Linked DNA regions of Homo sapiens: region 2 is linked to region 1. Evidence: promoter capture Hi-C in 16 types of primary human blood cells and fetal thymus (Javierre and others, 2016). All regions are on one chromosome and are shown on one strand. Each heading gives the region's core, a stretch centred on a gene start or on the middle of the fragment in contact. The rest is flanking DNA. Distances are from core to core; before and after follow the strand shown. Region 1 holds the start of JUN (Jun proto-oncogene, AP-1 transcription factor subunit). Region 2 overlaps LOC105378758 (a long non-coding RNA gene).

The links. The method cuts DNA at HindIII sites, captures the fragments that hold promoters and counts their contacts. A CHiCAGO score of 5 or more calls a contact.
Region 2: a fragment that was not itself captured here is called in contact with the fragment with the promoter of JUN in region 1 in 1 of 17 cell types (erythroblasts); the score reaches 5.1 in erythroblasts.

The regions. Positions count from the first base shown.
Region 1 is chr1:58,782,577-58,785,700 of GRCh38, forward strand. JUN (Jun proto-oncogene, AP-1 transcription factor subunit) reads right to left here and starts at 1,471. Exons shown (of 1, transcript NM_002228.4): 1 at 1-1,471. The coding sequence starts at 494. JUN-DT (JUN divergent transcript) reads left to right here and starts at 2,575. Exons shown (of 2, transcript NR_108106.1): 1 at 2,575-2,729. RefSeq lists enhancers at 1,169-1,916, 1,431-1,690, 1,917-2,662. The HindIII fragment of the contact is 7,855 bases long and covers 1-3,124 here.
Region 2 is chr1:59,782,711-59,785,834 of GRCh38, forward strand. The region is part of intron 4 of LOC105378758 (a long non-coding RNA gene); the gene reads right to left. The region is part of intron 2 of LOC101926944 (a long non-coding RNA gene); the gene reads left to right. Among named protein-coding and RNA genes, the nearest start is that of HOOK1, 31 kb to the right of the region's middle. The HindIII fragment of the contact is 413 bases long and covers 1,264-1,676 here.

The DNA.
Region 1 (3,124 bases), core at 221-2,720:
CTGTGCAGGCTGGCGCTGAAGCCGCCGCTGCCGCTGCCCCCTGCCACCGAGGCTACCGCGGGAGCCACCATGCCTGCCCCGTTGACCGGCTGCGCCGCCGACGTGACGCTGGGCAGCGTGTTCTGGCTGTGCAGTTCGGCCAGGGCGCGCACGAAGCCCTCGGCGAAGCCCTCCTGCTCATCTGTCACGTTCTTGGGGCACAGGAACTGGGTGGGGGTCGGCGTGGTGGTGATGTGCCCGTTGCTGGACTGGATTATCAGGCGCTCCAGCTCGGGCGACGCCAGCTTGAGCAGCCCCACGTCGGGCGAGGTGAGGAGGTCCGAGTTCTTGGCGCGGAGGTGCGGCTTCAGGCTCCCCACTGGGTCGGCCAGGTTCAGGGTCATGCTCTGTTTCAGGATCTTGGGGTTACTGTAGCCATAAGGTCCGCTCTCGGACGGGAGGAACGAGGCGTTGAGGGCATCGTCATAGAAGGTCGTTTCCATCTTTGCAGTCATAGAACAGTCCGTCACTTCACGTGAGGTTAGTTTGGGCTGCGCGCACAAGTTTCGGGGCCGCAACAGGGCTGTGGCAAGCGGGGGACACCCGCGCCCCCCGGAGCCTTTGACAGGGAAAGTTTCTCTAAGAGCGCACGCACCCGCTGGCTGTCGTCCCCGCTGCGCCCTCCTCACCAGCTCGCTCCAGGGAGCGCAGGGTTAATTAAGATGCCTCCCGCACTCTTACTTGTCGACTCGCGCGCGCTACCCGGCTTTGAAAAGTCGCGGTCACTCACTGAGCGCTCTTCGTGCGCAGCGGTTCCTCGGAGTCCGCAGGCGAACTCACTTCCCAGAGCAGCGGCTCTCCCCGCGGAGCGGATCAGTGCGGACCCTGCAGTGGCCGGCCGGCGGCGGGTCTTGGCCGCCCGGACTCCGACGACTTGTCCCCTCCTCCGCTGCTAGGGGGAGGGGGCGCCCGGCAGCCGCGGCTCGCGCTCGCCCAAGTTCAACAACCGGTGCGAGCGAAGCTGAGCGCACGTCCTTCTTCTCTTGCGTGGCTCTCCGCCGCCTTCTGGTCTTTACCGCCGTGGAGAAGCCTAAGACGCAGGAAAGGCTTGCAAAAGTTGGCTCCGGGACTCTGCCACTTGTCTCCGGTCCTCCCAGCCGGGAAAGTTCTTTGCTGCTGCAGCCGCTCGCCGACTTCCCCCGGCGGGCGCGTGGGTACCGCTGCTTTCCGCCGCTGTCAACAGCGCCTGGGCAGCAGGGCTCTCCTCCCGGGGGCGGCTGGAGACCAGGCTCTCTGGACACTCCCGAAACACCAGCCCGGGAGCCACAGGCGCTAGCTCTGGGCAGTTAGAGAGAAGGTGAAAAGAAAATAAGATTTGCAGTTCGGACTATACTGCCGACCTGGCTGGCTGGCTGTGTCTGTCTGTCTGCCTGACTCCGCGCACCTCCACTCCCGCCTCGCTGCTTCAGCCACACTCAGTGCAACTCTGAGCCCTTATCCAGCCCGAGCTCAACACTTATCTGCTACCAGTCAACCCCTAAAAATAGCCCATGATGTCACCCCAAGGCCTTCCCATTGGCTCGCGTCGCTCTCAGGGGGGCGGGCCCGCCCGTCACCATGGAGACTCCACCCTAGAAGATTCTTCTCTGGGCCCGCGGAGGCTCACGGGATGAGGTAATGCTCCGCTGCCCTCCTACAGTCGGGCCCTTCTTTCTCCTACCCTCCCCCCTGCCGCACGCCTCTCGGCCCTCTCTTCCCCGGTCCCCTCCCCGGGCCGTTTTTCCCGGCCCGCCCGGTGCATTGTGGGCTGACGTCTTGGGGTTTGACTGTCTAGTGACGGTGGCTGCCGCGAGCGGGCGGACGCTCGCAACCTCTGATGGAGGGGGGCTCAAGTTCACGGCTGCGGACGGGGATGCGGGGGATGCAGGGACCCGGGAGGCCAGGGAACCTGGCCAGTTGTTTTGGGCCAGGGGTGCGGGCGAGGGGTGGTTGTTGTTTCCCCACTTGTGGGGCCCGAAGTCATCCACCGGCGGCCGCCACCGCGCGGGGCTGGAGGCTGAGAATCCAAGTACGCTGCCACCCCCCCGCACTTCCGGGGGGGCGGGAATACCGCCCTTAAGGTGGCTCTGTGAAGTCCCAGGTGGGGGCGAGCCTAAGGGGACTTAAGTTTAGGGGCGGTCTCCCGAGAGTCGGCCCCCCACGTTGAGAACACTCCGAAGTTTGCATCTCGGTCAAGTTCAGGAGCGACGGTCCGCGGGGTCGTCTGGCTGCTCGTAGAAGCCGAGAGATTTGTATTGCCCGAAACTGGACGCTCAGCTGAGTCTCCGTTGCACCCCACTTCATCCTCCGGGACCGTGGGGGAAAGGGCGCGGGGGTTCACAGCTTTGCCTCGGAGGGGCAGTTTTTATAGTGGGCGCAATTGGTGGGTAACAGGGTCCAGATGGGAACAAGCGTGTAGGCGATCCGAAACTCGGGGAACCCCGGTGTTAGTCTACTCCCCCTCCCGCCCCCGGACAACACGCACACGCTTAACACAACACGCACAACATAACGCGCGCGCGCGCGCACACACACACTCCATCCGCGCCGAGTTGCTTCCGGGAAAACAAGCCCAGAAGGCGGCGGACACTCGCATAAAGTCACGCAGTAGTACTCGGAGCCCGGGGTAGAACCTGGACTTCAAATCTCTGCACTCCCGGCCGGGTGGTGGGCGCATATCCTGGGTAGCCTCTAGGAAGCGCTAGACACATGTAAGTGGTTCCTTTTCCGCGGTTATTTTATTCTCCCCCCGCCCCCCACCCCTTAGGGACGAAAGTGTGTGGTGGAAAGAATCCCGAAGTCGGGAATCCTGGTTCTTTCGTGGCCAGGCTACCACAGTGTGAAGCAAGCAAATCACGGAACTCCTCCGAGCTTCATTTCCCTCATCTGCAGGTGGGGCCGGTGCCGTCCACCTCACTGGGCTGCCAGGAGTTAGTGTGACAGGGTCGCCTGCAGCACTAGGGAGGTGGTGGCCAAACAGCCCGCTTCCCTCCCCTGCCTCGCAGTTTCCATCCTCGCAGAGCCTGGATAGGATGCCAGGATATAAGAGTGCGATTTGGCAGGACCAGGTGTACTTTCCTGTGAGAAGCATCGAGGGGAGGAGGGG
Region 2 (3,124 bases), core at 220-2,719, 1.0 Mb after region 1:
AGTTTAGAGAAGTGAAGAAGAGTTCAGAAAAGTTAGAGTGAGTCTTTTTTTATTTTTATTTTTAGAGACAGTGTCGCACTCTGTCACCCAGGCTGGAGTGCAATAGTGCAGTTACAGCTCACTGCAGCCTTGATCTCTCAGGTTCATGCAATCCTCCTGCTTCCGCCTCCCAAGTAGCTGGGACCACAGGCACAGGCCACCACACCTGGCTAATCTTTAAATTTTTTTGTACAGACAGGGTCTCACTATGTTGCCCAGGCTGGTCTTGAACTCCTGGGCTCAAGCAATAATCCTGCCTCAGCCTCCCAAAGCAGTGAGGTTACAGGCATGAGCCACTGTGCCCCACAAGTCTTCTAAGCAGAGAAAATAGCACCTGGGAGGGCCTTGGAAGTAAGAAGTATGGTGCCTTCAAATTACTCCTGGAGCATAGAGGACATTTACTGAAGTGTTCTGTATATCTTTGTATTTCTCACAATATCAGGAATGGGTTGTCCACAGATATTTTTGAATCTATAATAAATGGTGAACACCAATGAGCATGGCACCATTGGGTCTGCCAGTCCTCCTGGAGCATGTCTGGTTCTGAATGTCAGAACATTAATATTTTCATTGGGAAAATGTGAGTCTTGATAGCACTACACAGAATGATAATGGAAATATAATGAGGTGATAAAGGAGCAAACTTTAAAATGTAAAAACATCATCAAATGTTTGTTGTTCATCTTTGAAACAATTGGAACAGTGGAAAGAACATGGAAAAGAACAAAATCAAGGAAGATACTAGATTGAAAGGGGTCAGAATCTTGAACATTTTCTTAATTTTAATTCTAAAATATGTCAAAGAATAGAATGTTTCTGAAGCTGAAATAGCCATATCTGTGTCAATGTCAGAGTCTCATATACTCAACTTGGGGAGAAACAGAAAGCGCCAGGCTGTCAGCTTAAGCAAGGCTCACAGACCAATGCACCTGAATTTCACACAACAGAATAGAAGGTGACCGGTTTGCTTAAAGAATATCTTAGTGATGCACATCAGCCAGTTTTGATACTTCCCCCAGAGAATCAAACTCTTGATTATATATTTATACACACATAGGGAGATATGTATGTTAAAAGGAAACTTGTTAAAGCTTTATCTTGAGTTATGAGAAAATATATGTGAAAACACATACTCTATAAATATTTATAAAACTATAAGAAACTTATACATCAGTAACATTTTGATAATTATAGTGACTCATGTCATTATAATCTTATGGGCAAAGCTTCTTTAAATTGTTCTTTGGAAACCTTCACTAAATGGTCTTGAATAGAATCCAAGTCTTGAATTGCTTAAATTAATTCCACTCTCTCCTGAATGGTGTTGTAGTGCTGCTTCAGGATATTAGATAATGGAATTGTGACCCTACAGCTTTATTGGAGCTAATCATATTAATAAGGCCAAATAGGTCTTTATCTAGGATGAAAGAACCAAATAGTATAGCACTTAAAAAAAAACAACCATTGAGATATCCTTGGAATAATGCCACAAATTTAAGTCTGGGGGAGAAAAAATAATTATTAGAGGACAGAGTGCATTCACATATTGCTCAATTTGCCATTTACTTAAGTACTTGAAGTTTGGGAAGCATTCAGACTATAATGATGCTCATCACATACAAGGAGCTTGGGTTAAAAGCTTTCTGAGCGTCCTCTATTAAACACAGTAGCTGCTCTCCATAGGGCATTACCATATTAAAGATCCTACAATATTATCAGTTAATTTACTGGTCATATTACACCAAGCATATCAACTTGGTTTTAATTATTCTGCCAATACTAATTGATTGGTAGTGGCTGCTGGGTTACAAAAAGGCTGTGATTGTAAACAAACTCTAAAGCAGAGATCATGGATATATGTGTTTAGGGGTGGAACTGGGGCGTTCACAACCCCTATATAGTGACAGTAATGGTTCTCTATTACAGAAAAGGCTGATTAAGCATAGGCTCAAGGTTACAGAACTATTTATTCATTTGTTTATCATTCACTTCGTCAAAAATGATACGGAAGAAAATATAGGTAATATACAGTGATAAAGAAATCAGGGCAATGGGAAAGTAAAATCAAAAATTAAGACAAGGCCACTAAGAAATACAAGCTATAAGATCCGGCACACTTAGGAAAGGGGACTTAGAATTTGACTCTAAGTTTCCTGATAGTCTAATTGAAAGTGGAAGGCATGATCATTTACAAGATTCGGGCTGTCTTAAATATAAGGCAGGTCCTATACGTAAAATGTAAGACAGACATTCTGGTATAAAAGAATGTAAGTGGACCTAGAAGACATGAATTTAAATCTTAGGTCTGCCATTTAGGAGCTAGGTGACTTTCAGCAAGTTATTTAAACTTGACTACTTCGATATCTTCATTTGCAAAATGTGGATAATAATGCTGCTTCATGAATTGTTTTGAAATAAACAAAGAAGTAAATATGCTCTTTATTTTTTGTTTGGTCACCTAGATCCATTTGCCTTGCTTTTCTGTCCTACTTCCTGTCCTGGGAGGTTGACCCTAAAAACCGTGCCACCCAGGCTCCCATTGCCCTCTGGCTTTCTATTTGGTTCAGCCAACAAGAGGTACTCCCTCCCCACTGCCTCAATACCAACTGTCTAACTGTAGCTGCTCTTTTTATGACTACAACTCCTGATGGGCAGTTGCCTTATGTATTAGTCCATTTTCATGCTGCTGATAAAGACATACCAGAGACTGAGAAATTTACAAAAGAAAGAGCTTTAATTGAACTTACAGTTCCATGTGGCCTGGGGAGCCTCATAATCATGGCGGAAGGCAAAGAGGAGCAAGTCAAGTCCCACCTTACAAGAATAGCAGCAGGCAAAGAGAGAATGAGGAAGTTCCAAAAGCGGAAACCCTTGATAAAACCATCAGATCTCGTGAGATTTATTCATTGCCATGAAAACAGTATGGGGTAGACTGCCCCAATGATTTAATTATCTCCCACTGCGTCCCTCCCCCAACACGTGGGAATTATGGGAATACAATTCAAGATGAGATTTGGGTGGGGACACAGAGCCAAACCATATCATTCCACACCTGGCTGCTGCCAAATCTCATGTCCTCACATTT